Linked DNA regions of Homo sapiens: region 1 is linked to region 2. The links are contacts of gene promoters, found by promoter capture Hi-C in human tissues and cell types (Jung and others, 2019). All regions are on one chromosome and are shown on one strand. Each heading gives the region's core, a stretch centred on a gene start or on the middle of the fragment in contact. The rest is flanking DNA. Distances are from core to core; before and after follow the strand shown. Region 1 has its middle 23 kb from the start of GCNT3. Region 2 holds the start of SLTM (SAFB like transcription modulator).

Region 1 (3,574 bases), core at 166-2,665, 660 kb before region 2:
TGCCTCAGCCTCCCCAGTAGCTGGGATTTACAGGTGCATGCCACCACACCTGGCTAATTTTTTGTATCTTTTGTAGAGATGGGGTTTCACCATGTTGGCCAGGCTGGTCTCAAACTCCTGACCTCGTGATCCACCCACTTTGGCCTCCCAAAGTGCTAGGATTACAGGCGTGAGTCACCACGCCCAGCTGAAACCCCATCTCTACTAAAAATATAAAAATTAGCTGGGCATGGTGGCATGCGCCTGTAGTCCCAGCTACTTGGGAGGCTGAGACAGGAGAATTGCTTAAACCCAGGATGCAGAGGTTGCACTGAGCCAAGATAGCGCCACTGCACTCCAGCCTGGGTGACTCAGCGAGACTCCGTCTCAAAAAACAAAAAAAGAAACAAAGAAAAAGAAAAAAGAAAGGCAGGAAGTGAAGAGGCTAGCTGGGGAGATACTGCAATAGTTCGGGTAGAAATGGTGAGGACCCTACCAGATCAGTGATGCTAGGGATACGCTGACCGGGTTGTGAGAGACAAGAAGGATCTAAAAGCACCACACAGATATGAGAAAAATTGAAAGCCAAATCTGAAAGGTAGGAGCCTCATGACGCAAGTTTCACAATGACTTTTTCTTCTTTTTTGGCTCTGTCACCCAGGCTGGAGTGCAATACTATGATCTCAGTTCACTGCAACCTCTGTCTCCAGGGTTCAAGTCATTCTCCTGCCTTAGCCTCTCGAGTAGCTAGGATTACAGGCACACGCCACCACGCCCAACTAATTTTTGCGGAATTTCGCCATGTTGGCCAGGCTGGTCTCGAACTCCTGACCTCAAGTGATCTGCCCACCTTGGCCTCCCAAAGTTCTGGGATTACAGGCATGAGCTGCTGTGCCTGGCCAACAATGACATTTTGAGCTAGATAATTCTTTGTTGTAAAGAGCTATCCTGTTCATCGTAGGATATGCAGCATCATCTATAGCCTCCACCCATAATATGCCAGCAGATACCACCTCCTACCCCGAGCTGTGGCCAAAAATGTCTCCAGACAATGTCAAATGTACCCTAGGGAGACAAAATCACCCCTGGTTGACAACCATAATCAGGGAGAATGTACCTTTGACTTGAAGATCTTGTTTGGTAGAGATACAAGTAATTTATGCCCAGTAGAAGAGAAATGCCCAAATATTATGATTGGCAGCCCCAGCTCATGTCAGCCCAGAGAGAAAAGTCGATCATGCTAGATTATAATTTTCACAGAAGTTTAAAACTTGACTCTTTACTAATATGCATTGAAGATGTCAAAAACTTACTCAACTTACTAATTAATGAGGGAAGAAGTAAGATAGTAAAGCTGATTCAAAGGGCACCTTGAGAAACGAAATATTTGTAGACATTTATAAAAGAATGTTGGAATAAAGTTCCTAGCTTAGACATAGAACTGGCTAATGCCTTATAGGGCCATATAAAATCGTAACATTTGAGCCCTTCTCTTCTACCGGATATACATTATTTGTATCTCTACCAAACAAGATCTGCAAGTTAACATATACTTTTACTGAGCTTGAGTTAGCTAAAGCTAGACACAGTGCTTTCCGGCCATTTAACATGTTTATTATTAGCAAATAGCAAAGTCAAAGGTGCATTCTCCCTGATCAGTGGTTCTCAACCAGGGGTGATTTCGCCTCCCTAGGGCACATTTGACATTGTCTGGAGACATTTTTGGTCACAGGAGGTGGTGTCTGCTGGCATCTTGTGCGTGGAGGCCATAGATGATGCTGCACATCCTACAATGAACAGGATAGCTCTTTACAACTAAGAATTATCCAGCTCAAAATGTCACTGGTGTGAAGACTGAGAAGCTTTGCCCTAGATAATTAAAACATCCTTAGGGCCGGGCACAGTGGCTCACGCCTGTAATCCCAATACTTTGGGAGGCCGAGGTGGGTGGATCACTTGAGGTCAGGAGTTCAAGACCAGCCTGCCAACATGGTGAAACCCCATCTCTAATAGAAATACAAAAATTAGCCTGATGTGGTGGCAGGTGCCTGTAATCTCAGCTACTCCGGAGGCTGAGGCAGGAGAATAGCTTGAACCTGGGAGGCAAATGTTGCAGTGAGCCGAGACTGTACCGCTGCACTCCAGCCTCGGTGACAGAGCAAGACACCACCTCAAAAAAAAAAAAAAAAAAAAAAAATGGCCAGGTGCCTGTAATCCCAGCACTTTGGGAGGCTGAGGTGGGTGGATCACGAGGTCAGGAGTTGGAGACCAGCCTGACCCACATGGTGAAACCCCATCTCTACCAAAAATAAGATTAGCCAGGTGTGGTGGTGCACGCCTGTAAACCCAGCCAACTTAGGAGGCTGAAGCAGGAAAATCACTTGAACCGGGTGGTGGAGCTTGCAGTGAGCTGAGATCACACCATTGCACTCCAGCCTGAGTGACATAGAGAGACTGTGTCTCAAAAAAATAAATAAATAAAAATCCTTGGATGCCCTTATCTGATACTGCAAGACTATGCTATGCTGCCCAACTTTCTCATTTCCAGCTTTTAAATAATTTTTCTTAATGGTAATGTTCAACCATCTATTTTCCAAGGAAAGTAAACTTCTCCCTTTCACAAATATTTCACTTGAGTTTTTATTTGTTTTTGTTTGTTTGAGGGTTTTTTGTTGGTTTGTTTTTTGAGACAGGATCTCACTCTGTTGCCCAGGCTGGATGGAGAGCAGTGGCGGGATCTCAGCTCACTGCAATCTCCACCTCCCAGGCTCAAGAGAGTCTCCCCAGAGCAAGACTCCGTCTCAAAAAAAAAAAAAAAAAAAAAAAAAAAACAGAGTCTCCCACCTTCCCACCTCAGCCTCCCGAGTAGCTGAGACTACAGGCATGTGCCACCATGCCCAGCTAATTTTTTTGCCTGGCTGTTTTTTGTATTTTTTGGTAGAGATGAGGTTTCACCATGTTCACCAGGCTGGTCTCAAATTCCTGACTTCAAGTGATCTGCCTGCTTTGGCCTCTCAAAGTGCCAAGATTACAGGCATGAGCCACCACCCCCTCAGCACTCACCTGAGTATTTTTTAAAAGGTTTTCTACCTAATCCGAAGGACATTAGAAAAAAATCAATTAAGCAAGACAACCACCCCCACTTCCTGGGAAATTTATCTTATTGCAATCTTACTGCAGTAGTCATTCAAAGGCTGCGATTTTTCCAGGAAGCATGATAGTGCCCACAGATTTCTTAAAAACAAGAATAGTCAAAGAAAACAAACAAAAATTTTAAAAGTAGTTCAGATATAATTGGGGAAAGCTGGCAGTAGGGGCAGAGGTACAGGTTACAGGGAGAACAGCAGGGAGAAGACAGGTGCCAATGACAGCCCTAGCTGATGCAATCTGAACCCATCATCTTCCCTCAAGTGCTGAGCATAAATCCCAGAAATGAACCAGGAAGCAATAAATATTTATTGCTATGAAATTAAAAGCTCTCTTGTGTAGTAGAAAGATACCAAGGGCTGGGTATTTAACCTTGTTAATCACATTTCAGAGGAAGTCATAAAAATGTTCCAAAGCGAGTTTGAATATTGACTTGTACCTGTGCAAA
Region 2 (3,824 bases), core at 214-2,713:
GCCGGATCTCACTGCAACCCCTGCCTTCCGGGTTCAGGTGATTCTCCTGCCTCAGTCTCCCGAGTAGCGGGGATTACAGGTGCTCACCACCACACCCGGCTAATTTTTGTATTTTTTGTAGAGACGGGGTTTCTACTAAACCCTGTATCTTGGCCAGTTTGGTCTTGAACTCCTGACCTCAAGTGATGGGCCAGAAGATTTCTAAGGAGTCTTGCATTCTAAACTTCTATTATTGTGAATCCAATGTTGTAGCAGAGACAGAGCTGGATTTGGAATCAGGAGCCTGGGATTTGAGCACAGCTCGGCCACATACCAGCTGTGTGAACATGGGCAAGTCATTTAATCTCTCTAAGCCTCACGGAGATTTACTTGACAGACTTGGGAAGGATTAAGGGGGTTACTGTACGTCAAAGTGCCTTATAAACTGTAAAGAACTACCCTAATGTCAGGTATTCTTTTATAATGTCCAGTCTTCCTTTTTTTTGAGCCAATCAGAAAAAGTAACCTAAAGTGAGTCAGATCTCAGGAATTTAAGTTGTAAAACCAGGAAATACAGTATAGTTAATTGTGCATCATAATCACCTTATGGAATTTATAGAATCGTTTTATTTTATCAATGCTTGCACTTTGATAATGAATAATACAAGGTAAAATTACAAATAGGTACTCACTTGTACAGGCCGATCCTCCATAAGAAGATGCTCACTGTTCTTGGAATCCCAAATTTTGGGGGGCAAAATAGTGAACACAGTATATGATAACGGCAACAAGTACTTATAAGCTAGTTTTCTCTTTCATTGAACAATTTCGTGTTGAGCCATCAGGTCTACCGGGGAGGATAGCAAACCTGAGGCCAACAAGAAAGAAGTTTTCCTGTTTTTCAAGTGAGGAAGGGCAGCCCTAGAATAACCTAAGCTGCCATGGGCAGGGCGATGATGTTTTCTCCTGAGACAGCCAATGAGCCATGTGTCAAAGGCCAGCCCTTCCTATTCTTTGGACTAACAGCCCTAGAACTGCTTTGAGGTCTTTTGAATGGAACTCGGGGAACCTAGTTCGTTGGTGCACACCGGCGACAATTTTTCGATTATTCAGCAGAACTGATAAAGTATTTCCTTGAGAGGTTCAGCGCGCGCACGCGCCCCCTCGGTTTGTGTTGAGTAACGCGCGCACTATGTCATTCAGTGCCCGCACATCGTTGTTGCTCAAGACTCAAGACGTTGCAAGAAAATGGCTAACGAAGCGACGAGAGAACGGCGGCGCGGCGGACGTTGCTGCGGTAGGACGTGCCCGACCTCCCAGTCCACACAAGGGAGCGCACCGCCCAAGTGGCCGCGGCCCGCTCGACCGAGCGCGCCGCTGCCGGTCCCTGCGCCAACGCGCACGCGCGGCCGTCATCCGGGTGCTGGCGGCTGCTGCTGCAGGTTGCGCTAGGGTGGCGGACCGGGGGAGGGGCCAGCGGCTCATTGTGCGCAGCGCTGCGCGGCGCCGGCGGCCGCCGAGGCCTGGGTGGAAGTTGGCGCTGCTGCCGCCGCCCTGCAGCCCACTCGCTGCCTCGGCAGCGCGCTGCTCTTCTAAGATGGCTGCCGCTACCGGTGCGGTGGCAGCCTCGGCCGCCTCGGGTCAGGCGGAAGGTAAAAAGATCACCGATCTGCGGGTCATCGATCTGAAGTCCGAGCTGAAGCGGCGGAACTTAGACATCACCGGAGTCAAGACCGTGCTCATCTCCCGACTCAAGCAGGTGAGGCCCGGCGAGGACCGGAAAGGACCGGGAAGGGGAACTTAGGCCGCGCCTCGGCGCCCCGCTTCCGCCGCAGCCTCCGGCTGCCCGCAGCCGCTGGGACCTGCGGAACGGCATGGTAGGGAGGCCAGGGGCGGCTCCCGCGAGCGTGGAGGACGGGGACCCTTCCGCGGTGCCCCCGCCCCGCGCCCCGGGCCGGGCCGGGCCTGCGAGGGACCGGCCACCGCAGCCCAGCGTGCCTCCGCCTCCCCGGGACGTCCCCGCCAGGCTGCGAGGGTTGCGGCCGGCCGGCGCGGCCTCCCAAGGGCGATCGCGGAGACCTGGGAGGCGCTGGCTCCCCAGCCTTTAGCCATGGTGAGCGTGTGCATTTCTTGGCCTCAGAGGGAATGGTTACTTTGGTGACTTCTGCGAAGTTACCGTTTAATTGTGCCCAACCGTTTCTTCCCCATCTTGAGGGGGAATTGGTAGTGGGAGTTGATGGGTGGGTGACAGAGTTTTTGTTTTCCACTAGGCTTTTAGTTTTTGCATCAGCGCAATAATTACTTTTTCTTTCCTGATTAGCTTTCTGGTTTGAGTGAGCGTTGGAATTGTAGCAGAGGAGCAGTAAGTTTGCATTACAGAAACTAGGAAAACTCTTTTTAGTTATTTACTTTAGTAGCTAGCAACTTTTCTGCAATAGAACATATTTGGATTTTTGGCCAGTATGATGTGATATTTAATTATCTTGACACGGTAGAATTTAAAACTCCTTGCGATTTTGATACCTAATGATTTTTTTCCCCTGAAAGTTTCTCTCACTCTTTCGTGTAGTTTAATTGCTCATTTTTGAAGTCGGTTGATGAAATGACTGGCAATTCTAATGTCTTGAGGCTTGAGGTTTGCTAAATTTTTTTTCATTTCGTTTTTATAAAATAAGTTTAGATAGATTGTGTAGCATATTAACTTCTCTTTCTAATGTAGGCTATTGAAGAGGAAGGAGGCGATCCAGATAATATTGAATTAACTGTTTCAACTGATACTCCAAACAAGAAACCAACTAAAGGCAAAGGTTGTTACGAGTTATGAACATGTTTTAAAATATATTTTGGTTATATAACTTGCCTCTGCTCTTGTGCCTCTTGCCCTGTTTATATAGTGCTACTCTTTGCTATTTCCCTCTGGCAGTCTGCCTTCTTGGGTCAAGGAAGAAAAGTTACTGTTGCCAGGCTTTGGGTGACTTGTAGCCCTTAAGATTCGGCTGAAGCTGATTAGAAAGTGAGAACAGTTCTTTATTGCTTCCGGAAAAAATTACAAAGTCAAGTTGTGTAATGATGCTTCATAGTGTGAAGACCTGAATAAAATACAGTTTAACACATGTCTACCTTGCCCCACAATTGGCAGAGTTTTGATGGAATTCCTACCAAATCTTTTACCTTGCCTCCTTGCTGTTTTCTTTAGTATATTAAAATTCTATAACCTTTATGTTTAGTACTTTGTTTGACTTGGTGAACTTAATTTGCATTTATGCCATTATACCTCCTAATTTTTAGTGAAATTCAAAAAGACCTCACCAATCATACTAACAAGGTAGAGGGAAAAATCCATGATTAATTAGCTTAAAAAAGTTTTAAATTATAGGGATGTTAAAGATTCTTATTTTTAACTTTTAAGCTAGAGCAAAATATATTTATTTCTAGGATATAATGATTTAGTGACTAGCTAAAAGTGGTTTTAAATGAACGTTTTGCAGTATGAATGGAACTTAGGTATTTTTTAAAGCTTCTTGGTAAATGAAACCTTTATTTGAATAACTGCAAATTTCTCCCTCCTATAAGGACAGTGGCAGAGGGTGGACATGATATATCTGGATTCTGGTCTTTACCTACAATTTTCATGCAGAGTTTGTCATGAACAGCTGCTGCATTTTTTGTAATCTAATTTTCTTTACTGCTTTAAGTGATCCAAGTGTTACTCCCAACCACTGAATGATTGCAACTAAAATAAAATGAATGGATTAATATTGAAAAGGGAATATTAAATTTTGATCTTAAGCACACCTGGGTATCAGAGATGAGGACAACTCACTATTTTAAGTCTTCCTAGGTTA

Evidence for each region. The method cuts DNA at HindIII sites, captures the fragments that hold promoters and counts their contacts. A contact is called where the count stands out against the background at its distance.
Region 1: a fragment that was not itself captured here is called in contact with the fragment with the promoter of SLTM in region 2 in 2 of the 25 tissues and cell types used here (hippocampus and lymphoblastoid cells).

The regions. Positions count from the first base shown.
Region 1 is chr15:59,587,192-59,590,765 of GRCh38, reverse strand. No RefSeq gene overlaps it. Among named protein-coding and RNA genes, the nearest start is that of GCNT3, 23 kb to the left of the region's middle. The HindIII fragment of the contact is 7,810 bases long and covers 1-3,574 here.
Region 2 is chr15:58,931,318-58,935,141 of GRCh38, reverse strand. It overlaps SLTM (SAFB like transcription modulator), which reads left to right and starts at 1,463. Exons shown (of 21, transcript NM_024755.4): 1 at 1,463-1,738; 2 at 2,699-2,786. The coding sequence starts at 1,577. RefSeq lists enhancers at 1,017-1,106, 1,127-1,266, 1,557-1,796 and silencers at 1,297-1,476, 1,847-2,106. The HindIII fragment of the contact is 29,686 bases long and covers 1-3,745 here.